4 separate regions of the Homo sapiens genome follow, and all the other regions are linked to region 1. The links are contacts of gene promoters, found by promoter capture Hi-C in human tissues and cell types (Jung and others, 2019). All regions are on one chromosome and are shown on one strand. The core of a region is centred on a gene start or on the middle of the fragment in contact, and the rest is flanking DNA. Distances in the headings are between cores, read along the strand shown.

The links. The method cuts DNA at HindIII sites, captures the fragments that hold promoters and counts their contacts. A contact is called where the count stands out against the background at its distance.
Region 2: a fragment that was not itself captured here is called in contact with the fragment with the promoter of COL8A2 in region 1 in 2 of the 25 tissues and cell types used here (lymphoblastoid cells and spleen).
Region 3: a contact is called between a fragment that was not itself captured here and the fragment with the promoter of COL8A2 in region 1, in 1 of the 25 tissues and cell types used here (adrenal gland).
Region 4: a contact is called between a fragment that was not itself captured here and the fragment with the promoter of COL8A2 in region 1, in 3 of the 25 tissues and cell types used here (adrenal gland, dorsolateral prefrontal cortex and spleen).

The regions. Positions count from the first base shown.
Region 1 is chr1:36,121,325-36,127,628 of GRCh38, forward strand. COL8A2 (collagen type VIII alpha 2 chain) reads right to left here and starts at 3,898. Exons shown (of 4, transcript NM_005202.4): 1 at 3,733-3,898. RefSeq lists a silencer at 1,210-1,410. The HindIII fragment of the contact is 15,339 bases long and covers 1-6,304 here.
Region 2 is chr1:35,882,439-35,888,742 of GRCh38, forward strand. AGO1 (argonaute RISC component 1) reads left to right here and starts at 771. Exons shown (of 19, transcript NM_012199.5): 1 at 771-1,008; 2 at 5,989-6,172. The coding sequence starts at 984. RefSeq lists a silencer at 534-993 and enhancers at 3,344-3,983, 4,621-4,680. The HindIII fragment of the contact is 3,416 bases long and covers 1,074-4,489 here.
Region 3 is chr1:35,918,677-35,924,980 of GRCh38, forward strand. AGO1 (argonaute RISC component 1) reads left to right here. Exons shown (of 19, transcript NM_012199.5): 18 at 379-578; 19 at 823-6,304. The coding sequence ends at 931. Among named protein-coding and RNA genes, the nearest start is that of AGO3, 9.3 kb to the right of the region's middle. The HindIII fragment of the contact is 4,306 bases long and covers 1-3,934 here.
Region 4 is chr1:35,972,406-35,978,709 of GRCh38, forward strand. AGO3 (argonaute RISC catalytic component 3) reads left to right here. Exons shown (of 19, transcript NM_024852.4): 5 at 970-1,106. Among named protein-coding and RNA genes, the nearest start is that of AGO3, 44 kb to the left of the region's middle. The HindIII fragment of the contact is 3,961 bases long and covers 1,988-5,948 here.

The sequences.
Region 1 (6,304 bases), core at 2,648-5,147:
GTTGCAGTGAGCCGAGACCATGCCACTACACTCCAGCCTGGGCGACAGAGCCAGACTCTGTCTCAAAAAAAAAAAAAAAAAAAAAAAAAGTTGCTGTTCTAATTCCTTCTTATTGGCCAGGCACAGTGGCTCACCCCTGTAATCACAGCACTTTGGGAGGCCAAGGCGGGCGGATCACCTGAGGTCAGGTGTGCAAGAGCAGCCTGGCCCCATCTCTACTAAAAATACAAAAAATTAGCCGGGCATGGTGGTGGACGCCTATAATCCCAGGTACTTGGGAGGCTGAGGTAGGAGAATCTTTCAACCTGGGAGGTGGAGGTTGCAGTGAGCCAAGATCGTGCCACTGCACTCCAGCCTGGGTGACAAGAGCCAGACTCTGTCTCAAAAAAAATTAAAAAAAAAAGAAAGAAAGAAATCACAAAACCCAGTAAGGTTCCCTCTGCTCCATGTCCTTTGAGGGAGGGCAGCCTTTGTGAGGAAGGGCACCTGGGCCTGGGATCCTGGCCTCTGTTTCGATTCTGCCTCTGGCTGCCGTGTGACCTCAGGTGAGTTCCCCTCTGAGTCTCCATAACCCCATCCATGAGCTGGGCCAGCAGTGCCACCTGGCTCTCCCCATGAGGCACTAGCCCTCCGCCACCCCCACATGTGACCTCTTCTTCCCCTTCAAAAGCCAGGAATCCCAGCCCATCCAGGCTGCATGGGGATAGTCAGCCTCCAATTCAGAACTTTCCAAGAATCTGAATAGAAGCACGGCCAGGTCCTCCCCAGTCCACTCCCAGGGTCCAACCAGAGAGGCGGAATGGACACTGATCGGAAGATCTAGGTGCTGTGCCCCCATTGCATGTGTGACCTGGAACTACTCCTCACCTCTCTGCAGGCAAAACAACTCTGGAGACCAGTACAGCATTCCCATTTTAGAGATGGGGAAACTGAGGCACAGAGCTGGGAAGTCCTAGATCTGTCTGACTCCCAATGCCAGCTCATCTCCACACAGCACATGCTGCCTTACTCAAGATCTGCTGTCCACACTCCACCCACTCTGGAAATGCCCTCAGAACAAAGTGGGCCTGGAATTCTCTTTCTGGGAGTCAGACTTCCATGACTGGTACTTGGGCACATGTGTGTCCACATATGGCCTCGCAAACCCACCCAGGCTTCAAGGCTACACTCAGCCTCCAGCTCCCAGTCATCTCAACTTATCAGACCCCAGCGCCAAACCCACATCTCCCCTGCACCTGCCTTCTCTGGGGACAGGCCACAGCCATCCAGTGCAAGGCTTCTGGCCCCATCGCCAACCGGCTTACTCCTTTCCATCTACTTCTTCCTCTCATCCCCATGGCAACCGCCCACTTCATCCCCCGTCACCTTTCTCCTTAAACTCTGCCCAGCCTCCTCTGTGATCTCCCTTGCCTCGAAGATCCCCCCTTCATCCTTGTTCCCCAGAGCAGCCAGAGTGATTCCCAGATTATATCATTCGCAGCTCACACCCTTTCTCTAGACAGGGCCCTTAGAAATCTGACCTCAAAGTCATGAGTCCCTCCCACTCCCCAGTGTGATCCAACAGTGCCCATTACTCCCATTACTCACTGTCCCTGAGAGAACCCTGAAGCTTCCCCCTCCACACCTCTGCACGAGCTGTGCCCTCAGCCAGGAACACCCTCCCATTCACCCTTTCCACCCCCTGCACCTGTCAAAATTATCATCTTCGAAAGCCCTGGCCAGATTACCTCTTAGGTGCCACCTTCCCTGATCTGCACTTTGGCTTGCATGGTGCCCCTCCTCGGGTACCTAGTAGGGCACCGTGAGACCACAGCCACACCCCAGAGGAGAGGCCGCTGTGTCTCTCTCGTTCCTCCGACCCGACACTATAATTTCCTCCTGCCACGGATGGGACCAGCGCATCTGAGACCCCACTTCCCTGTAAGAGGTGCCCCATCCCTGCCACTGAGAGTTCTGGAGCGGGCTGGGGGGCCAGCAGGGCAAGGAAGCTGGGGCTGTGCGTCCTTTGTTCCGGCTCAGGCAGGAGCAGAGAAGGTAGTGGAGTACAGGGGCTCAGGCTGACAGCCCTGCTTAGTATCTTTCTCCTCCCTCTTGCTAACAGACACATTCACTTCCATATTTTCTTTCCCCTTCCTCTGAGCCAAAGAGCGGAAATTCTCATTTTCACTGTGGTAGACGAAGTGAAACCAGAGAAAGAGACCCTGGTGAGTGTGTCTGGGTGTGAGCGTATGTGTGTGTGTGCCGTCCTGTCTGAGTATGTCTGGCTGGGCCACGTGGGGCCTGCCATGTGTCTGTAGGAGTTTGGGTGTGTGTGCATGTGTCCGCCTGTGTCTTGTGGTGGTGTATGTTTCATTAGAGGAGGGTGTCCGCATGAATCTAATGAATGTTTGGGTCGGTGTGTGACTGTGCATGGCTCTCAGAAGGGTGCAAGGCTGTGTGTGGCTGGGTGAGCATGTCTGTGGTTTCTCCTCATTATCATCTAGGGTCATTGTGTGTCCAAGGGTTTGTAGGTGTTCACCAGTCCACTGGGAAGCCAGTGACAGCACCTGTGCCCTGATGGAGACCACCAACCATGGTGTCTCTCCAGAGATCACCAACTCCTGCCCTGCGGCCCCCTCTGCTTGGGGCAGTAAGGATCAGTCGATCTTAGCTCAGTCCCCAGAGAGGAACCCCAGGCTGCCTGACCCTCCAGCCATCCAGCTCCACGGCCCCCAGATTTTTCAAATGCCCAGTACAGCTGCTGGGAGGCTGTCCTTGCCAAGGGGACTCTGCTAAGAGGAGTGGATGAGCCCCTGCTGCCAGCCTGAGCAAGAGGTACTGATAGCAGACAGGAGGGATGATTTCTGGTTGCTCCGGCACCCCTAAGGAGGTCAGCCGCACGTCTGTGTCAGGAACCCAGCATGGTCTCACACAGGCACACACACGTGCGTGCACACATACAACCAGCAAAGTTTTCCCCGTGGCAATAGCGTTCCTGGGCCCTCTGGCTGAATAGCATTTCTCTACCTGGAGGATTTCCGGGGCTAGGGTGGCTCCAGACCCAGGGCAGAGACACTGGGAGGTTGTTCTGGGGCCCTGGGACCCCAGTCCCTCTTGGCCAGGCAGCGGCCCCTCACCCCCTGCAAGTCTCAGTCTGGAGCTGGGGGGATGCTGAGCCCCTGACAGGAACATTCCTGGGAACTTGTCTTCAGTTTGGGGCGAGGGGACTGACAGGGCACCTAGAATAGGAGGAACCTGGGGGCTAAGGCAGAAAAACCTTATAACTGGAAGGTCTCCAGCAAATCAGCAATGGCAGAGAGATGGGGGCAGGAGTGAGAGCGGGGGGATGCTAAGGCCCCTCACTCCCTCCTCTCTCCTCCACTACCCTGTGAAGGCGGCTTTTTTATCCCCACTTTACAGGTGGGACGGGAGATCGGGAGGTGGTGACGCGCCCAGAGCCACATCGTCGGGGGTTGCACCCGGCACTGTCTTATGCTGGAGCCCTCGCTTCTGGGAGAGGAAGGGAGGAGGGGGCTTTACTGGGATCCTGCCGGGGAGGGAACGGGGCACAGGGAACGGGATGGGCTCCCCCATTCTAAGGCGACCCCCTGGCCCGAGTCCCCCACCGCGTCCCCACCCCGGAGTCCGAGGCGCCGGCCCTGCTATCCCGCATGGTGTTGGGGGAAGCCCAGCCCAGGTCTTGCCCTCGGAGCCCCCCAGCCCGAGCCCCGGTGCCCGCCTCCTGGCCTTTACCTGCGGGCGCGGCCGCCGGGCGCCGCTCCCGGCCCTCGAGGGCGGCCCGGGCGGCGAGGGCTCCGGGCAGGGGCGTCCGCGGCTGGGCGGGCGGCGTTGGGGTCCGGGGTCCGCGCCGGCGGGGTTCCGCGTCGCTCTGCCGGCCGCCCCTCGCGGCTGCCGGAGTGGGCGGGCGGCAGGAGGGGCGCGTCGGGGCGGGGCCTCCGCCCTCCTCTTTCCACAGCCACGGCCAAGGCCCGCGCCCCGCCCGGCCCAGCGCGCCCAGCGCGGACTCGGACGGCTGCCTCCCTCCCCGACACCCACGCCGAGCCCCCTCCACACACGCGCTCCCGGGCGGCCCGCCCCCATCCCTCCCCGTCCACCTGACCCGCGGCTCGGCCGCCGGGGAGTCCGCGCAGCCCCTGCCCTCGAGGGGCCACCTGCCTGTGGGGACGGACGCGGCTGCTGAGAAGGACGGCCAGGCGTGGTCCTGCAGGGAAGGGGCAGCTCGGGCTGGTGGCCCCCAGTGAGGAGTCCCCAGAAGGCTGCCTGCAGACGTGACCTCGGTAGGCTGAGCCCGGAGGACTCACAGGGGCCAGTCGTGACCCGCACATTCAGGCTTTAGGGCATTGAGCCGGGGTCACAGAGGCAGGCGGGAGCAGGCCAGACCTCGTCCCTCGGAAATGGGGAGTCACGGAAGGCTCTGGAGCAGGGCAGTCACGTGGTCAGATGTGTGCTTTGGAAAGAGCCTCCCGAAGCTGTGTGGAGGAAGATAGAGGCAGGCCACCGAGGAGGCTGCGGGAATACCCTGGCATGGTCCCATGAGGTGCACAGTGAGGGGGAAGGAAAGGGAGGGCCCAGTGTGAGGGGAGTGAGGAGGCGAACTAGGCAGAGTTTGGGCGAGGGGCCTAGGAAGAAGCAGTGTCAAGGACAGTGCGCAGGCTTTGGGCTAGGCCTGGGGGCGGCAGGGTCTAGGAGAAGAAGGAGGACGGATGTAATGAATTGGATGAGCCTGTGGGACTTCCATGGATCCGGAAGGGAGGTGAGAGTTCTGGGATAGCGAGGAGGAATCCACGGTTTGCAGATGGCGACTGATGCCATAGAATAAGGAGCGGGCCCAGGGAGGCGGGCAGGGCGCGGGCAGGACACTCATCAGCATTCACGGGGCTGCCCAGGGAGAGGGGTCGGCAAAGGAGACTGAGAAGATGGCAGGGACCGGGAGAGCAGTGTCCCAGAAGGCAAAGGCAGAGTGCTTCTAGAAGGCCAGGGAGGCCCACGGGATGGGCTGTCACAGAAGGACATTCTTAGGGACAGCAATTAAGGGTTGGAGGTTGGGGTGGGGGTAGGGGCAGTAGCCAGGCAGCAGGGGAGAAAGGAGGAGGCAGCAAGTGCAGAGGGAAGGGGAGATGAGGTCAGGAAAGGATTTTGGGGTGTGTGTGTGTGTGTGTCTGTGTGCGTGTGTGCATGTAGGTGAGTGTGGGTGTCTGTGTGTGCATGTAGGTGGGTGTGGGCGTGTGTGTGCGTGCATGTGTGTGTGCGCGTGCCTGTGTGTGTACGTGTAGGTGGGTGTGTGTGTGTGTGTGTGCATGTGTGTGTGTGTGCGTGCCTGGGTGTGTGTGTGCATGCGTGTAGGTGGGTGTGGGCATATGTGGAGGTATGTGTGCTTGGGTGTGCAAGTGTGTGTGTGCGCGCATGGGTGGGGGGTCAGCATGTGTGTAGGTGTGTGGAGGGGTGGGGGTGTGTATTTGTGTGCGTGTGGGGAGGTATGTGCGTGGGGGGGTGTGGGGGGTGTGGCTGCATTTGGGTGTGTGGATGTGGCTATGTGGCTTTGTGTGGGTGTGTGTGGCTGTGTGGGTGTATTGTAGCTTTGTGTGTGTGGCTGTGTGGGGGGGTGTGAGTGGGAGTGTGTGTGGGGGGCTGTGTTTGGGGGTATGGGTGTCTGTGTGTGTGGGTGTGTGGGTGCCGCTGTGTGTTTGTGGGTATGGGTGTGTGTGTGGCTGTGTGTGGGGATGGGAGTGTGTGTGTGGCTCTGTGTTTGTGGGTGTGGGTGTGTGTGGCTGTGTGAGTGTGGGTGGGAGTGTGTGTGTGTGTTTGTGTGTCTGTGGGGGGGTGTGGGTGGCTGTGTGTGGGGGTGAGTGTGGCTGTGTGTGTGTGTATTTTCAGTGGGAAAGAGCAGAGCCCTCACCAGGTCCAGGAAAGGAGCAGGGAGGGCCCCAGGCTGTCTCGGGTCAGGGCCCACCCCCCTCAACCTTCCCCCTTCTGCTGCCTGCCCTCTGAGGGCCTCCCACTTTTCTGTCCCCCTGCCAAGGTACACACCAGCCCCGCCACTCCACAACGGGGCCTCTCACCCTCACCTACCGTCAGAGCCTGGCCCACTCCATCCCACCCGTCAGAATTGGGGGCAATTGCCAGGGGTCTTTGGGTCTGGCCTCCTGGCCTGAACTACAGGGGAGCCAGGCTGGGGCACTGCCCAGAGAAGGGAGGGGGCCTGGCTGGCAGGGTGCCTAGGAGGACACCGACTGAGGGGAGATTGCAGAGTTCTGACCCTGAAGCTGGTGTGGAAACCAGACCCTGCATGGGGATCTGATGGGGG
Region 2 (6,304 bases), core at 1,532-4,031, 240 kb before region 1:
GAAGGCTCAGAAGGGAAGTAGAGGCACAGTGACAGATGCTGCAGAGAAATAATTGAAAAGTATCCTTTGGATGTCAACCCCAAAAGTCATTTAAGTGACGTGATGAGGGCAGAAGCTGATTGACAGTTCAGGCATGAACTGTAGATGAGAAAGTGGAGGCAGGTGCTTCCCAGGTCCGGCGGATAGAGCTCTGTAGCTGCACTTAAGTTCAAACTGTGACATCTTCCAGGGTAGGCCGCGTCTCTACTTATCTGTGGTCTCAGCGTCCAGCACATGGCGTGGAAGAGGGGGTGGCGTCAGTGAGTTCAGTGACTAGGGACGGAGAAAGACTTCGTGGAGGCAGTCGCTTTGCAGCCAAGGCTTGAAGGATGAGGGTGATTGGGAGGAGAGGTGGGAGGCAGGGCCCCTGGGCGCTGGAGTGCCAGGGGGTCTGGGAATGAAGTGGGGTTCCCATAATGTGTGCGCGCAGCTCGGTGCGACAGGCGGGGGCTGTGTGTAGGTTTGGAGGGACCTATTTGGGGAAAAGACACAGGGCTGAAGGCTGCTGTGGCGGGATGTCCCTTCGCCCTGCCCCACTTATACCACTGCGCGGTTCCAAGGCACCTCTACTGGCGCCCTCCCGCCGGGCTGCATGGCGACGGGTGACCGCCAGGGGCCGCTGCCTTGGGTCCCCGGTGCCCCCGCCCCTCTCCATTGGCCTTTGTTGCCGTCGGAGCGCCCCGCTTGACTCGTTCCGGTCCGCCCCCTGGGCCCGGCGGTCGCGCCTGCGCACTGGCAGCTGGCCGGGCGCTCGCAGTGGGAGCTGCTGCAGGCTCCGCGGCGGCGGCAACGGAGGCTGCGGGGGCGGCGGCGCGAGCGGCCGGGCTTGGTAGGGGAGCCGAGCCCGGCCCGGGATCCCGAGCAGCGAGAGTGTGGGGTACCTAGGCCCCTCACGCTGGACTTCACAGTCTCCGGGCCGCCTGACCTCCGCACGGGTATATGGGATGGAAGCGGGACCCTCGGGAGCAGGTAAGGGTCCCCAGGAGGGGGAACGGTGCATGCTCCAAGGACTGGGGGATCCCGCATGAAAAGCGTGGTTTCCAAGTGATGGAAGCGCTCCTGAGTGAGGAGAAGGGCTCTCCCACGATGGGGGCCCAGTTTGAAGGAGGCTGTGTGCAGTTCCGGGGGAGAACCATGTGAAGAGAGCCCTGAGATGGGGGCTGTTTGTCCAAGGAGGCTGTATACAGTCCTGCGGGTTGGAAGTAATCTGGGAGAAGGGCCTGCACGCACGGAAGGACTCCCAGACATCCGTGGAGGCCTACGGAGAGGCCCGGCAGGTGGCAGGGGACGGGCTCCAGGTGTCCAGGAGAGGAGGGGGCGACACAGATGGGCCTGGAGCTACCGCATGCCGGGGGCGGGGGCTCCGCTGGGCTGGAATAGGCTAATGTCTCTTGGGAGAAGGCGCCAGAGCTGGACTGTGAGCTCCGCCCCACTGGGCCTGACGCGAGGGCGAGGGTCAGGGGGCGGTGGGTGGGGACCCAGTCCCGGGATTACCCCCCGTGGGTCTGGGGAGTCGGAGCGGAGGCTCCAGAGCATGCGCGGAGGTGGCAGCTGGAAGGGGCTGCCCGACGTGGTGGGGGCGTGGCTGTCCGAATACCCCCACCTCTCCACACCCCCCCGCCCCGCCCCGTTTGGCTTGGAAAAAGGAGCGCGCTGATGGGGTGCATTCTCTCTTAGGTTATGCTGGCAGTGTGCAAATGGTTATGGTCCCCTCCCCCATTTTAGGGGCTCTTACACTTGGCCCTCAGTCACAGTTTGCTAAGAATGGGTTGAGGGAAGCTGCCAAAGTGCATTTTTCTGCCACAGGAAAGACTGGGACCGAAGCGATGGGTTCTGGGGGTGGGTCCTCCTGAAGATAGGCCTTAGGAAAGGTATTGGTTACGGAGGAATCAAGGACAGGGCAGGGGCTACCTGGAAGGAGTTGTCTGCTTGGTTTGCAAGTTTCTGCTCCAATACTGAGTAGTGATGGGGGCTTTTAATCCAAAGATTTTCCATTGAATTGTCTGTTAAGGTTACACTCTACATTTATAACATTTATTCTAATATTTCTTAATATTTTCATGGCTCCTATCTTCCACTGGATATCTTTCCGTTTTCCTCTCCCCACTCCCCAGAAACTGTCAGGGCTGTCTTTAGAGCCAAGATCTAAACCCTACAAACACGTTGGAGGATGGGGGAGTTTATAGCCTTCATCCTGGTGAGGCCTAGGTGATAGCCTTAACTTCTTATTTGCAGGCAATGAGGAGGAAAAGACATAGGAACAGAGGATAAACTGAGGCAGGATTGCCTCAAGAAAACTGGAGTCCTTAGGATGGGCTGTGGGGTGGTGATACCTCTTGTGTCTTAAGTGTCTTACCCTGTGATGGGACGAGGAGCCTGGACCTGGGAATCCTTCAGGTCATCTCTCACCACTTCCTTACATTTGGTCTGGGGATGGGAATCAAATTTCCATTTAGGCCATGAACTTCATTACTTTCCTAGTGGAATTATTTTGTTTTTTTTGTAGCAGACCTAACTCCCTCCCACCCTCCCAAGGAAATAGCTCCTACGACCTCACTCAAGTTATCCATTTAGTGATCTCTAAGTACTTAGTGACTGTTTTCCCTCTTAACAACCAGCCTTGTATAGACTGTGTAGTCGTAAGGATAAGCACAGGGAGCAACTGACTTGAGTACTTCCTCTCTGTCAGGACCCTCTCTCCATCCCAGGAACTTCTGTTTTTCAAGGCTGGGGACTATTTCCAACAACCCATGAACTAGAGTAGTGGGGTAGGTCATTGAGGTCCACATGGATTGCTGGTTGCTGGTACCCATTCTAGACTAATGATTTTTATCCTGATGAATTCCTAATAGGCTCTGGAGTGATGAAAAATTGACTTTTTAAAAATTTGTTACAAAAAATAAGCTTATAGGAAAGGAGCTAGAACCTGCTGTTTGGAGTCAGCCAAAGCCTTGGGAAAAGCCGAATAGGACAGGCTTTGCCTCAGTAAAGGGTATAATTGAGATTCAGTCTGGAAGCTGCAAATTGAGGGACCCCATAACTGCCTCCTTCCTAGGCCCGGACTGTTCTCTTATAAGAAGTTAGAGTGGTGTCCCAAGGTGGCCTGAGGACATAATACACAAAACTAAAGCGTTGTGTAAAAAACAACAACAAAAAACCCCCCAAAAACTAAAGCATTGTTGCTAGCCTCACTGGGCTTATGCCCAGGTCTGCCTTCTGTGCTCAGGTGTGTTCCAAGCACATACAGTGGACTGGGTGCTCCCTGAGGGTAGAAGCAGTGTCTGGTTTATTTGTAGAACTAGCAAGTGCCTAGTGTATAGGCCCTGGCACAGAATACATGTTTATTAATTAAATCAAATCACATTCAAGTGTGAACATAAATGGTTAAGCACGTATGTGGATATTTAATAAAGTGTATACTCACATGGAACAGATCCTTTTTGGAGAGATTGGCTTGTTAGTCTTTGCTTGCCCACCAGCTAACCTAACCTAACCTAACCTTGAATTTGTGTCTTTTGAATAGGCAGTCTGGCTCCTTGGGAGGTGTGTGGGCCTCAGAACTGCAAGAAAGGAATCCTGAGCCAGGGTTTTCAGCTCTGTTACTTTTCCTTCTCTGGGCTCCTTGGGGATGGGGGAGGGGGAGTGTCCTTTTCAGGGCCCCTCCCTCCTTGCTTTTGTCTGAAGAGAAGGGTCCCGCCCCTTTCCCCCTAGGCCCAAGCTTTGTCCTCTGTGCTGGGGCCCTCATCTGCATCACAAAGTGGCCGTCTGTCCCTGTCTGGGTCTGTAGGGAAGTGTCTCCCTTTCTCAGACTAAAAGCTGGGGTAAGGGGGGCGGGGAGGAGACAGTGCTGTTGTTAGGCTTTCAGGGGGATGTAATGGGAGAGAGGTTCCTGCTTCCTGCTGTCTTTCCTAGTTTGGAGATGAAGTGGGGGTGTGGGCTCCCCTGTTTTCCCAAAGCCTCTTTGGAGAGGAAGGTGCTCTAAGGCTATGTGTGGTATGTAGTCGGGTTTCTGGGGAAGAGAAGGCTTTGAGGCTAGAGTGTCTGTCCCATCCCCCATCATTTCTAACTAGCCCCCCAGCTCTAGGAGTTATCTTTCTCCGAAGGCCCCAAATGATTATTCAGTCTGGGAGGGGAAGAAGGTGAATGAAATATAAGAACTTGGGGAGGGAAAGGATGTCTCTTACTGGCTACACCCACAAACGTGCATATTTGTCTTGTGTAGTGTTTATAATTGTTTCTGGGCAATTGCAGGTGTTCGTGTGTCTGTGTGCTGTGTGTGCTTGTGTGTTTTTGTGGTGTGTCTATGGATATGTTTGTTCATTCATTTCATATCAGTATGTTGAATACTTCCTGTGTGTGTGTCAGACACTGGAAATTAAACAGTGACCAAGGCAGATATAGTCCCTGCCTTTGAAGAACTCAGTCTAGGGCAGTGAAGGATATGTGTGTAAGTGTAAATTGCCAAGGTCTAAGTGTGTGTTTGGATGTGTGTGATGGGGATGTGTGTCTGTCTGTCCGTGAGCTTGTGTGCAATTTCTGTCCAGCACTTTCTGAGGTAGGCAGCCAGGTGCTAGTAGATAGGTTTTCCCTTCCCCATGTAGCTGAGTTCTGAAGACCTTTTCCATCCAGGCTGGGCCTTCATTTCCCTGTCTGCAGAGTGGGACTGGGCTTGGACAGGTGGTTAGAGGGAAACAGAGCAGCTTAGCTCTGGGAAGCTGCCCCTCCCATGAATGGTTCTGACCTCTTCCTGACCCCCAGCTGAGGGTATGCCCCATCCCCCCAGCTTGTCTGACTGTGAAAGCAGAAGTCTGATAATGGGAGGTTCTGGGCTGGTTTATCCCTCTCTTCTCCCACCTGGGCTAGTTCTCTACTGCCAAGAACAATAGCAGCATATTATTCCCTTTTTTTCTCTCTTCCCCCCAAGCTAGAAAATAAGACTGGAGACAGCAGCCAGACTGGCAAAAGAGGGTAAAGTAGCTGGATCTGGCCTTACCCTATCCCTTTCCCAAGGGCCTCCTCTGTCTTGAAATTGATCTCTTCTGCTGCTGTCTGGACCTTCTGTGTGGAAGGATCTGTGGGGCATGGAGAGAATCTTGTGTTCTTCCCAGAGCCAGTGTCTCTTCTCCAGCATTCTAATTGCCACCTCTTCTTCCCAAACCCGTTAGTTCTTTCTTTATTCAAGCTTTTTTTTTTATCATTGTCTCCCCAGTTGCTGCTTTGTTTCTTCCTGCCTGAGCTTCCAACCCTAACCTCTTTTGCCCCACCCCTTGACTCCAGCCTTCTCTTTCTCCTGGCCTTTTTCTTTTGTGACCTCCAGCTCTGTCCTCTTCTCCAACCCCCTTTCTCTTTTCCTTAGTCTCCAAACTCTGTCCTTTGAGCCTTTTCTCCTTTTCCCTGTCTCCAACTCTCGCCATTCAGTTGCCTTAATTCTGCCTCAAACACTGACCCTGCCCTCTCCAGCCTGGCCTTGTCTGGATCTTATTCCTGCCCACCTATAAAGGAACATCAAGGTTATGCCATTTTGTATTCAGCATGGTGGCGAATGGAGTGAGCATCTGGCTGGCAGAGAATAGAAATTCTTGGTCTGCTAGATACCTGGTGGAGGCAAGTGTCTTACTCTACTAGAAGAAAGAAAGGGTTTTGTTACTAGGAGCCAGATTTAGTCTCTCTGCTTAACATGCAATAGGAACTTATTATATATTAACTTAATGAATTAAAAATAGACAATAAGGATAATTTTCCTAACTGGAGAGAGATTAAAAAAGAAAAAAGAGAAAAAACACAGATGAGCTTGAGATGTCCCCTGGAAGCCCTTGGCTGGGTTGGGTAGCAGGAAAGAGGCATTCTCTATACTCTCGTGTTCCTGTTCTGGGAGGCCTTGTTCCTCCTCTGATAAGAGTAGTTAGGAGATTGCCAGACTTTACCCTCACCAGCCTCTTTGTCTTGTAGCTGCGGGCGCTTACCTGCCCCCCCTGCAGCAGGTGTTCCAGGCACCTCGCCGGCCTGGCATTGGCACTGTGGGGAAACCAATCAAGCTCCTGGCCAATTACTTTGAGGTGGACATCCCTAAGATCGACGTGTACCACTACGAGGTGGACATCAAGCCGGATAAGTGTCCCCGTAGAGTCAACCGGTAAGTGATGCACACCTAAGCCACCAAATCTGAAAGACACCAACCTTGAAAGAGGGGCCAGAAAGGTAAAAGAAAAACCAGTAGAGGGTAGTATCACCAAATCTAAGGAAGTTTTTGAACGGGAGATGCCAC
Region 3 (6,304 bases), core at 532-3,031, 200 kb before region 1:
TCCCAAGTAGCTGGGATTACAAGCATGCGCCACCATGCCCAGCTAATTTTTGTATTTTTAGTAGAGACAGGGTTTCACCATTTTGGCCCTGCTGTTCTTGAACTCCTGACCTCAAGTGATCCACCCACCTTGGCCTCCCAAAGTGCTGGGATTACAGGCATGAGCCACTGTGCCCGGCCAGGACTGCTGTCGTAATAAGCCCTGAGTACACTTGCAGGTTGCTTATAAGAAGAGTGCTTTATGACATTGGTAGTTTTGCATCTGCCTGTTCATGGGTGAATTATCTACCCAGCCATATTCTTAACAGTGATCCTGTTCCCCTATTATCAGCCATCTTCTCTGCCCAGCCTGGGACCCCTCACCTTCCTATCTTCCCAGGGCACCAGCCGACCATCCCATTACTATGTTCTTTGGGATGACAACCGTTTCACAGCAGATGAGCTCCAGATCCTGACGTACCAGCTGTGCCACACTTACGTACGATGCACACGCTCTGTCTCTATCCCAGCACCTGCCTACTATGCCCGCCTGGTGGCTTTCCGGGCACGATACCACCTGGTGGACAAGGAGCATGACAGGTGAGGCCTGGGATCAGGTTGGCCTCCTTTTTGCTTCAGCCTATTGTGCCAGATCTTCTTAACTTTCCTTGGGTAGAAGGAAATGAGTGCTGTCCAATTTGGTGTCATTGGGCTCGTCTGCCCAATCCTGGGTTGGGTTTCTCTCTTAAGTTGGTATGGGAATTGGCATCCCAGGGCTGGGCGAGGGAATTAGCAGCAGCTCTCAGTTCACCAGGAAGGACTTCTTTCATTTTTTCCTTTTCAGTGGAGAGGGGAGCCACATATCGGGGCAGAGCAATGGGCGGGACCCCCAGGCCCTGGCCAAAGCCGTGCAGGTTCACCAGGATACTCTGCGCACCATGTACTTCGCTTGAAGGCAGAACGCTGTTACCTCACTGGATAGAAGAAAGCTTTCCAAGCCCCAGGAGCTGTGCCACCCAAATCCAGAGGAAGCAAGGAGGAGGGAGGTGGGGTAGGGAGGAGTGTAGGATGCCTTGTTTCCTTCTATAGAGGTGGTGTAAGAGTGGGGAACAGGGCCAGCAAGACAGACCACCAGCCAGAAATCTCTGATATCAACCTCATGTCCCCCACCCCTCACCCCATCTTGTCACATCTGGCCCTGACCCCACTGGACCAAAAGGGGCAGCACTGGTGCCCACCATACACACAGGTGTCTCATGTGACTCACAGTGCTAAAGACTCATGCTTGACAGCTTGGTAAGGTCAACTCTGTAGCCCTGCAGACAAAAGCTGGTTAGGTTTGGGTTTGATACTTTAGATGGGAAAGTGAGGGGCTTGAGAAAGTGGGTGGGAGGAGGGAAGGATTTTTTAGGAGCCTTAATCAGAAAAGGACTAGATTTGTTTAAGAAGAAAAATGAAACCAGACCCAGATCAATATTTTAGGATACTAGATGTTTTAATGGGTTCAGAATCCAGTTTGTAGGAAGATTTTTTAATGGTTTTGGTTGCTCCTCCCCCAGCTGCCACCCCCCACCTTACCCTTATTCCTCTCTGTCCACATTTTCTGCCCCACCTTACTTCTCCTCCCTGACAGACATCCAGCCCCTAGTAATACTTAAGGCACTATGGCACTTAGCTTTGAAGTGACACGACCCTGTCTTCCTTCCGCCCGCTGGTGGGTAACCAGTGCCTTCCCTGTAACGGTAATGCTGCAGAACTGCAACCTTTTGTACCTTTCTTTGGGGAATGGGGTGGGGGTGGGAGAGGAGGTAGATGGGGAAGAAATACCCCAGACCCAACAAACCTCCAGCCAGAAAGCCAGCTATTTTGCATTTGAAGGAATTGACTTCCTCATTCATTGAGCTTTTTAAAAGATCACAACCTCAAGATGGTTAAAATCCATTGACATTTGCACTTTCAAACATGACAAGTCTCGGAGCTGCTGAGATGACAGGCCCCTGGCCTTTCCACTTATGCCTCCTTTTCTCCTTATTCCTCCTACCTCCCGCCCCGCCCAGGTCTGGAGTTACTTTCATAGCATTTTTCACTCTTGGCTTCTTTTCTCCCTTGATGGTCAAGTCTCTTATGTTTCAATATTTCTTAACTGGGGTGTCTTATAACAAAAAACTCTTAGGTCTAAAATGAGAAAAAAGAGAGAAAACAAAATGTTATTTTTATACCATAACTTGAGTGTATTGCCAAAATTTGGAAATCCTTCCCATGCCTGATGAGTTTATATCCCAGAAACATTGAGCCATCAGAATGAACTGTGTACCTGATTTGTTCTCTGACCTGGCTAGGTAGGGAGGGGGTGGTTATCGCCCCAAGATGGGGTCCAGGCTCCATCCTTCCTCTGTGCAGATAATACCTTTTTCTTGCTATAGCCTCCCTCCTCTGCACTGTCCTGCACTCTTTCTTGCAAGTGCATCTTTTTCCTTCCCCTGGACTGTCCTCTGACCCTTTGGCTCATCCTAGATTGCAGTGTGTCCTGTGGACAGGCTGGGGAATTTTGCTGCTCCCTATTGCTTCTGTTTACAAAAATGAATTTTTCCTGGTTTCCCACTAGGGCATGTGGGTGGGTGGCATGGACTTTTTTTTTTTTTTTTTTTTGTCTTGAGACATGGGGTTTGGCTGTCTTGCAGGACTGGAGAAGGTGGTGGTTCTAGCTTGGTCTCTGTTGGCCTTGAAGCAAGCATCCCCCCTGCCCTTTTTCCTTGACTGTTCATTTTTTTCCTGCCCCACTGCTTGGGATGGGGAGTTGCAACTTCAGTGTGGAATTTCCTCTTTGAGGAGCCTGGGCTTGGATCTATCCTGATCTGGTGATGAAGCCATGATTACTTTAGACCTAGCCCAGGCTTGGAGGCCAGCTGGAGGAAGAAGGGTCTAAATCCTGGCCTGTAGAGTTAGAACTACCATTTCCTCCCCTTAGCTGCCCTTGTATGACCCGGATTTGCTATGCAAAACAATCTATCCCAGGTTCTGTTCTGGTTGGCTACATTGTTCAGCAACTCACAAAACGTAGCACAAACATTCATTATGGAGAAAGCATCAGGACTGTTGAGTAACTCCTCCTTTACTTTTTTCCTGCTGGCTACAGCATGGGGTGCCCTATAGGCACAAGCCCAGCTGAAGAACAGAATGGAGGGCTCTGGGAGGAGGCAGCTCACTGGAGAGCCTACATTCCTTACACAAGTGCCTAAAGAGAGTGATGCTAACACTCCATCTGCCCTGTCCATTGCCTTCATATACAGTCTACTTCGTGTTCTGTCACCCTTTGGGGAGGGGAGTTCTCCTGGGACAGTGGGCTCTGCATGTTCTCCACTTGGATACATTTTGGGGCTAGGATCAGGGCACTATTCCTGGAGGGTCCAGTCATTCACCAGCATTTGCAAATGTCCATAGGGAGCAGGTGGCAGCCTCTACTCCCAGCAACAAGTTTGTGTTCTCTCCTTTTCTCTCTTTGCCTCACTCTCTCCAGTTGGTTTTCAGCTGGGGCTTGAAATGCATTTTTAGCCCTTTGACGTGGCTTATGCCATTCAAGAAATAAAAAGCAAGAGAATCAGCTTTGGGCAATGACAAGAAATGAGTTCTTACTCTGATTTTTTTGTAAAAAGATAATTTTTGAGACTTGAAAAATACCCCGACCTTGAGATTATTCCTGTTTGAAAGGTGGTGCATGCAGATGGAGAAGTGGTGTTGGCAGCAAGCTTTGGCTCATGTGGATTTGGTTTAAGTGGTGCTTCTTACCCAAGCTTCAAGGAAGTGCTTGGGGGACCCCCAGCCTCATCCTCTTAGTTGGGTCTCTTGTTCCCTTTGTACCACTGTTTTGCCTTCCTTTTCCTCTTCTCTCTTTGCCTGGCTTCCTTTCCCTTTTCTTCTATTCACTCTGCTTGCTTGCTGGCCGGCCTGCCTGCCTGCCTGCCTGCCTGCCTGCCTGTCTGCCTATGTGATGATGAAATCTCTGCATGGCTGCAATGATCCCACTGTTAGCTGGCAGGGTCAGGCTTAGCTCCTTGACTGCAGAAGACCAAGAACCTGTTCCCCAAGCCCAGAGATGTCCACCTGGGCTGGACTGCCCTCAAGCTTATACTAGAGAAGAGCAACTGACCTGCCCAACTTGTGTGAAGTCAGGAGGGTTTCTGGCATTTTCCACACCTGTCCACTCCTTGGAGCTGGTTTCTCTCATTGCTTTTTCTAAATCTGGTTCTTTTTCTCTTTACCTGGGGCCTGGCTTTTCTGAGATTGTCTTAGGGTTGAGCTATTTGGGTATCCTGGGTTTGAGTGTTAGGGGATGGACATAAAGGAAAAAGAGTGATGAGAAGAGAATGGAGAGAATTTGAATAAAAGGTGGGAAAGGAGAGCACTGTTCTTTGATTGTTTATCCAGTCCAACCTGATCCATTAGGGATCGAGGTGCTACACTGGCCTCCAGGGATAAGCCTGGGGCTACTGTTGCTGGGAACTTAGGCTTAACATAAAGCCGAAGAAGGTACCTAGAAATTTGAAACTTCCCTAAAAAGCTCCTAATGCCCACCTGCTAGATAGCTTCTCTGTGGCCTCCTATTTAGCTAAGCAGCAGTGTTTTTGGATACTTTTTTTTTCTGTTTGTGAATAAGGCCAGCACTCAAGATGGGCAGCCAAGGGTGCACTGACTATTAGCTGGCCCATAGGATATCTGTAAGGCTGGTGGGACAGTTTTGGACCTGGAATCATGTGTAACTAACAAGGTTGGACGTTTCTTCCCCATCAGGGTAGAAAAATCATCTCAAACTAGCCAAAAGGCAGTTTTGGAAACTACATTGGGGGACGTTATTTTTATTTATATATGGGGCCTAGGCCAATCCAGGATGGTAGCTGGAATACCTTCCTTCTTAAAATCTGATCATGGCAGGGATATGCAGGGCACTTTTTACTATTTGGCCTTCTAAGCAGATTGGGAAGGAGGTATTTTCTGGTTTTCGCTTTCCTCCGACTTAATAGGACTTGCCTTCTCCCTGGGCAGGGAGAGAGGCTGGGTTGGTGCTCTCCCTTACTCTACTCATACTGACTTAGAGCCTCTGGCTGCTGTTTGGGCATCCAAGAAAGGGAGGGGAAGGAATGAGCTAAAAACAAAACAGAATGAGGTGGGAAAGGGAGATTTTCTTCTTTACAGAGGAAAATAGGAAACCCTCCAAGAATTGTGCAAGTAAAGACATTTGTTGAATGCACTGAGTCCCTTGGTGTAGTAGCAATAAGGAAAAATGAAATTACTTTCCTGTGCACACAGTCCAGCCTAATTGGTATGTGATGTTGCACTTAGCAGCCATGTGGTGGGCATGTGTGACTACTCTGGTTTTCACTTTAGTTTCTAAACTTTTTATCCCTCTCAAGTCCAGCATGGATGGGGAAATGTCTCTGGATCCCCACAGCTGTGTACTTGTTTGCATTTGTTTCCCTTTGAGATTTGTGTTTGTGTCCTGCTTTGAGCTGTACCTTGTCCAGTCCATTGTGAAATTATCCCAGCAGCTGTAATGTACAGTTCCTTCTGAAGCAAGCAACATCAGCAGCAGCAGCAGCAGCAGCACAATTCTGTGTTTTATAAAGACAACAGTGGCTTCTATTTCTAAAGTGCGGTCTTTCTCTTTTTTTTTCCTACCAGCAAAACAAACTTTTGGGACTGATTACATCTCTAATAGATTTTAGGTGAGAATAATACTGTAGATTGTTATGCAGGAATACTTCACAGAGCCTTCATTTATTCTTCATTCAACAAACATGCAAAGCACTGTGCCAGCAGTATTGTGGGGAGGGGAGGCACAATTCAAAATGAGGAAAATAGTGTCCGTCTCATTAAGGGAATTAAGTTTGGTGGGGGATATGATTAGCCAAATAGTCCCCTGGCATAGGAGGAAGATAATGAGGGAGTGGAATAAGGCTACAACAACGAATATAGGGAGGAAGGGACAGATTTGAGAGACGAGGTAGAATTAATAGGACTCGATGGCTGGTGGGAGGAGAAGACAGGAGTAGAGGTTAGCTCCCAGGTTTCTCCTTGACCATAGGAGTGTGTTGGGACATTCTGCCAGTCAAGATGGGGGTGACGGGGAGACTGTAGAAGGAAGGTGGGGAGTTTTTGAAGAAACAGAATGTTGTATAGACTGAGTTTTGAGGTGTTTGTGGGGCAGTAAGGGTAAGGTGTCCAGTAAACACAGGTTGGTGCTCAGGTAAGACTGTAAAACTGCATTTATAGATACAGGAGTCTTATAGATGGTAGTTAAAGCCATAGGCATGAATGAGATAGCTTAGAAA
Region 4 (6,304 bases), core at 2,718-5,217, 150 kb before region 1:
TGGCTTTTGCAAGTAACTATACGTCATTAGCTTAGCTAGTCTCATGAATAATTTTATAGAAAAATATCTCACCCTTTCTCTTAGGATCTAAAAGTCTTAACAGATCTATTTTCAGATGTATTTATTTAGTTATCTTGTTTTAAAAGTAATTTCACTGTTTATACAACAATATCAAATTGTGTTGAATTGCTTTTTTTCAATAACCCTAGGACCTCACATGTGTAGGGTATGCTCCTGTGTGTGAGCGCATGTGTACCCGTGTATTTTTTATTGTTTGGTTGGGTTTTTTTTGAGACATGGTCTCACTCTGTCACCCAGGCTGTAGTGCAGTGGCACAATCATGGTTCACTGCAGCCTCAACCTCCCAGGCCTAAGCAATCCTCCTACCTCAGCCTTCTGAGTAGCTGGGACCACAGGTATGCACCATCATGCCTGACTAATTAAAAAAAAATTTTTTTTTTTTTTTTTTTTTGTAGAGATGGAATCTCCCTATGTTGCCCAGGCTGGTTTCAAACTCCTGGACTCAAGTAATCCTCTCACCTTAGCCTCCCAAAGTGCTCGGATTACAGGTGTGAGCCCCCACACCTGACTCAGTATGTTTTTTTTTAAAGAAAAATAGTATGTCTTGCAAACACATTTATATAAATACCTTTTTGTTCAATAATTATTTACTTGTTAACATTTTTAAGGTCGGAACTGTTAACTTTTTAAAACCTATTTTTAAGAAATTATTTTAAATAAAATTTATTCTTATTTCAACCAACAATTTTGAGAAAGGAAAATTTAAGTAGATTTTTTTCCATTTAGAGTGGATACTTTTTGCTTTCTCAAATTTGGAACATGTTTAGTTTCATATATTCATAATGATAAGCATCATTATGTTAATTGTGCTCTAGTCTCCCCTTTTCTGCAGATTTAAATACTTGCATGAGAAGGAAAGGATTGAACATGCCATTTTAATTTTTGTAGATACACACCTGTGGGGCGTTCATTTTTCTCCGCTCCAGAAGGATATGACCACCCTCTGGGAGGGGGCAGGGAAGTGTGGTTTGGATTCCATCAGTCTGTTCGGCCTGCCATGTGGAAAATGATGCTTAATATCGATGGTAAGGGAACTAAAGCCATATTCTGTATTGGGTGGTGGATTTCTGTATGATGTGTGTACATAAATTTTATATATAATTATACATACTGGTGTCTCGAAGTAATATTTGGACATGTATTATGATCTACTGGAGAAACCTTTATATTTTTATTACATTTCATTTAGAAAGCCTGTAGAATTTACCTTGGAATGCTGCTAAACATGAAGCAAGCACATGAAGACAGATTTAAAAGCCCTGATGATTATCTGAGCAATCTTCTATTATAACTCACTTTTGCCCTTTTAACTCTAAGCCAACATTTTATTATGAAATATATATTTTAAGAAAGATAATTCTGTTGGGCATGGTGACCCCCAGATGTTATACCCACTGCTGGTCTTAATGTGATGCTAATTGCATTCTTGTTTTTAGGTGTTTTCTTACAAAATATTTTCAAGCTTATGTAAAAACAGAGAGAGTAGTATTATGAACTACCACATAGGTAGCCATTACTCAGATTGTCAGAATTTTTCTACCTTTGCGTAATCCGAGTACATTTCTTCCTCTACAGTAGTGTTTTTAAATCTAATTCCAGACAGCATGTTATTTTATCCCTATTACTTCAATGTGTACCTCTAAAACTATGGATATTTTCTTATAGCAGCAATGGCATTATCATATGTAGGAAAATTATAAACAAGCATTTATTTTTACCCTCTAATACCTGTCCACAATCAGATTTCCCTGATTGTCTGAAATATGCCTTTTTCTTGTTAGCTGGTTCTAATCAGAATCCAAACAAGATCCACACATCACATTTGATTATTGTGCCTTTTGCCATCTAGTAGTCCCATTTCCTTTCCTGTTTTCTTATTTCTTTATGCCATTGACATTTTACAAAAACTGGGTCACTTGTTCTGTAGAATATGTTCAAATCTGATTTTGTCTTTTTGTTTTCTTGTGTTATTACCTTGTTCCTCTATCCCCTGTTTTTTCTGAAAATGAAAGTTAGCTTAGAAGTTTCATTCCATTCTGGTTCAAAATGCTTAAGTGCTTTATGTCGTGTCATATTAGGAAACACAGTATCTAGTGGTCCCAATTTTAGTGATTCAAAAATCAGTCTCTAGGTTCAGAGATTAATCAGTAGATTCAGAGATCTCTCCATTGTAAATTTCTTAATTAACCTTTGAATTGCTAATGTTCTGTTCACTGATCGTTGTGGCCCAAATTATTTATTTCACTAGGGATTACGAACTGGTAATTTTTCTGTTATTCTTTTTGCATTAGGTGGAATTTTTCTGTGGAAAAGCTCAGTGTCCTATTGAAAATTAGTAAATGTTTGAAAGCTTTCTTGCTTTCGGGCACAGCAGGATATTCCTTGCTCATCTTATATTTCCTGCCCAGTACCTGAAATTAGACATTCCTCCAAGGATCCCTGGATCCTTCCAGATTAGGGTATAGTTTCCTCATTTTTTCAGCTGCACCTACCATTGTGTAATATATGATTGAGGAGGGGATATATTTAACCAGTTTTCTTTAGATGTATACTAGGGTTATTTTTAACTTTTCTATTTTACATCATTTTATGTATATTAAGATAAGTCTGTAAGATACATTCCTGGCGGTTAGACTGATGAGTTAAGGGCAAATGTATTAATATTTGTAATTTGTATCATTGTTGCCAGATTGCACTCCATAGAGATAGTAAATATTTTGCATCAATGAATGAGAGTACCAGTTTCCTTATATCTTTGCCACTAGAATCATCAAACTCTTAGATTTTCTTCAATCAGATTTGCAAGAAACAGTTTTCTTGTGTCTTCTTAATTTGTATTTGACTACCTTTTCACAAATATAAGGGCCACTTGTGTTTCTTTTTTAATGAACTGTTAGTTTATATCTTTTGCCCTTTTTTTTCTATTGGATTTTTCGTCTTCTTATTTACTGAGAATGCTTTCTAAATTAAGGAAGTTAGCTGTTCATCTGTCATGAGTTGCAGATATTTTACCTAGGTTGCTATTTGTCTTTTGACCTTTGGTATTGTGATGTTTTTTTTGTTGTTGTTTTTGTTTTTGCCATGCAGAAGTTTGTTTGTATGTTGGTGTGTGCACACATACATATGTATTGGTCAGTCATTTCTTTTATGACTTTTAATATCTGATAGGACTAGTCCCATTTTTCTCTTTTCAGGGTTTTCCAGACCATTCTTATGTATAAGCTTTAGAAATTCCTTGTTTAGATCCAGTGAGTGGGAGAGGACAGATTGTTATTTTTATTGAGATCCTATTAGATTTATAAATTAAGTTAGGACAAATTGGCATATTTAAGGTGTTGTCTTTTCTGTCAAAGAATATACTATGTCTTTCTATTTGTTTAAGATTACTTTCATTTTCAAGAGATCTTAAAGCTTCACATAAATTTTGCACATTTCTTTTTTTTTTTCTTTCTTTCTTTTCTTTTTTCTTTCTTTTTTTTGAGACAGAGTTTCGCTCTGGAGTACAATGGAGTGATCTCGGCTCACAGCAACCTCCGCCTCCCAGGTTCAAGCAATTCTCATGCCTCAGCCTCCCAAGCAACTGTGATTACAGGCATGCACCACCACACCCAGCTAATTTTGTATTTTTAGTAGAGATGGGGTTTCACCATGTTGGTCAGGCTGGTCTCGAACTCCTGATTTCAGGTGGTCCACCCACCTCAGCCTCCCAGAGTGCTGGGATTACAGGCGTGAGCCACTGCACCCAGGCCATTTCTTGTTATTCCAGGATATTTTCTCCTTTTTGTTGCTATTAAATGGGTTTATAGATACTAACTGGTAATTGCTTATATATATTCAGGCTTTTGATTTCTGTATACTTTCTCTCTTTCTGTGTTATTGAATTCCATTATTGTTTGTGGTATTTTTTCAAGCGATTTTATTGGGGTTTCTAGGTTATAATCATCACCTGCAACTAGTGATAAGTTTACCTCTTCCTTTGGATTTTTATACCTCTAATTTTTTTTATCAGATTATATAGACTAATTAGACAGGGTAGGATTAAATAGTAGTGATTAATGTGCGTCCTTTTTCTTTCTTGCTCTAGAAGCATTAAGCATTGTATGTATACATTGTCATATTAAGGAATATCTGTTTCTTATTAAGTACGTTTATCAAGAGTATGTGTTAAATTTTGTCAGATGCCTTTTCAGCATCTATGGAGCTGATGATGTGATATTTCTCTTATTTTTAACAAACATTGAACCAAACCAGGACTCCTAGATTCTTTTAATTGATGCTGGATTCTGTTTGCTAATACTTTCCTTTTATAAATTAACATGCAGAAGTCATATTAATCTGCAGCCTTCCTTTTTTGTACAATCTTTGTCAAGTTTTGGTATTATTTCCTAAAAAATTCAGAAGTTTTCCATTTTCTAAAATGTATAACAGTTTTAAAATAGTATTGATATTATCAGCTCTTGTATGATTTCGTAGAATTCCCCTATAAAACCTTGTGACCTGCCGTTTTTTGTTTGGTTTGGTTTGGTTTGCTAGGTAGCTGTTTTAAAACTTCCCTCATTTATTTTGTGAAAATCAGTCTAATAATTTATCGTACAATTAAAAATAACTAAAAATATAATTGGATTGTTGGTAACATAAAGAAAGGATAAATGCTTGAGGTAATGGATACCCCATTTACCCTGATCTGATTATTATGCATTATATGCTTGTATCAAAAGCTCGTGTAACCCATAGATATATACATCTAGTATGTACCCATAAAAATTTTTTTTTAATTAAAAAAAAAAGTCTGTTCAGGCTGTTTAGGTTCACTTTTGGTAGCTCACATTTTACTGGAAAATTATTTTATTCATATGTAATTTAATTATACAGAGTTTTACAAAGTAGTTTCTATCGTTATTATGATTTTTTTTTTTTTTTTTTTGAGACAGGGTCTTGCTCTGTCACCCAGGCTGGAGTGCAGTGGTGTAATCTTGGCTCACTGCAACCTCCACCTCCCAGGGTCAAGCGATCTTCCCACTACAGCCTCCTGAGCAGCTGGGACTACAGACACATGTTACCACACCTGGCTAATTTTTGTATTTTTTGTAGAGACAAGATTTCACCATGTTGCCCAGGCTGGTCTCAAACTCCTGGTCTCAAGAGATCTGCCTGCCTTGGCCTCCCAAAGTGCTGGGATTACAGGCATGTGCCACCGTGCCCAGCTAGTTTCTATTAGTTTTTGAAATTCTGTGTATTTTTGTGGTTTTCCCAGTCTGTTATTTTGCATATGTATGCTTTGTTCTTTTTACTTTTTTTTCAGGTAGTGAAATTCAGTGGTATTTATTTTTCTCCATCTTTTTCAAGCTTTCAACAATAAGCATCTATTACTTCTTATCAAAAAACTAAAAAAAAGACGGTATGGCATCATAAATATTTATTTTAGAAAACAAAATGTATTTATTGAGTGCTTTCTGATTAAGAACAAAGTATAGTTAATGAATGCTGATTGTTTAATTAAGTAGTTTAATCCTTAACCTTTTTTCCTATGCCCTGACTTCTTTTTTGGTAACATAGTCTTCCCAATTAATGAATTACTGAAACCTATAATAAAGAATATTTTCTATTATTCTAGCTCAGGTGTATATTTAGTACTTAAACTTAAATACTTGAATCAATGAAATAAAATCTTGATGAACTCTTTCTAGAGATGTAAGGTACCCAAATTTCTTGACACAATTTTTTTTGAGTTTTGCTCTTGTCACCCAGGCTGGAGTGTAGTGGCTCGATCTCGACTCACTGCAACCTCCGCCTCCCTGGTTCAAGCGATTGTCCTGCCTCAGCCTCCCAAGTAGCTGGGATTACAGGTGCATGCCACGACACCCAGCTAATTTTTTTGTATTTTTAGTAGAGATGGGGTTTCACCATGTTGGTCAGGCTGGTCTCGAACTCCTGACCTCAGGTGATCCGCCTCCCTCCGCCTTCCCAAGTGCTGGGATTACAGGCGTGAGCCACCGCATCTGGCCTGAAAACAATTTTTTTTTTTATTAACGTTAAACTCACTAGAAAACTCTCAAGAATTGTGTTGAAGATCATTTGAAAATATATCTGCCAACTTCCTCTTCCTTCCTGAAGTGTGTTTACAGACAGAGCAAGTTACAACAGTCTTACTATTCTTTGAGGATAGAGCAGCTTCCTGGGGATTCTGGAGGCTCAGTTTTCTGGTCTGTTATTAGGACACAAT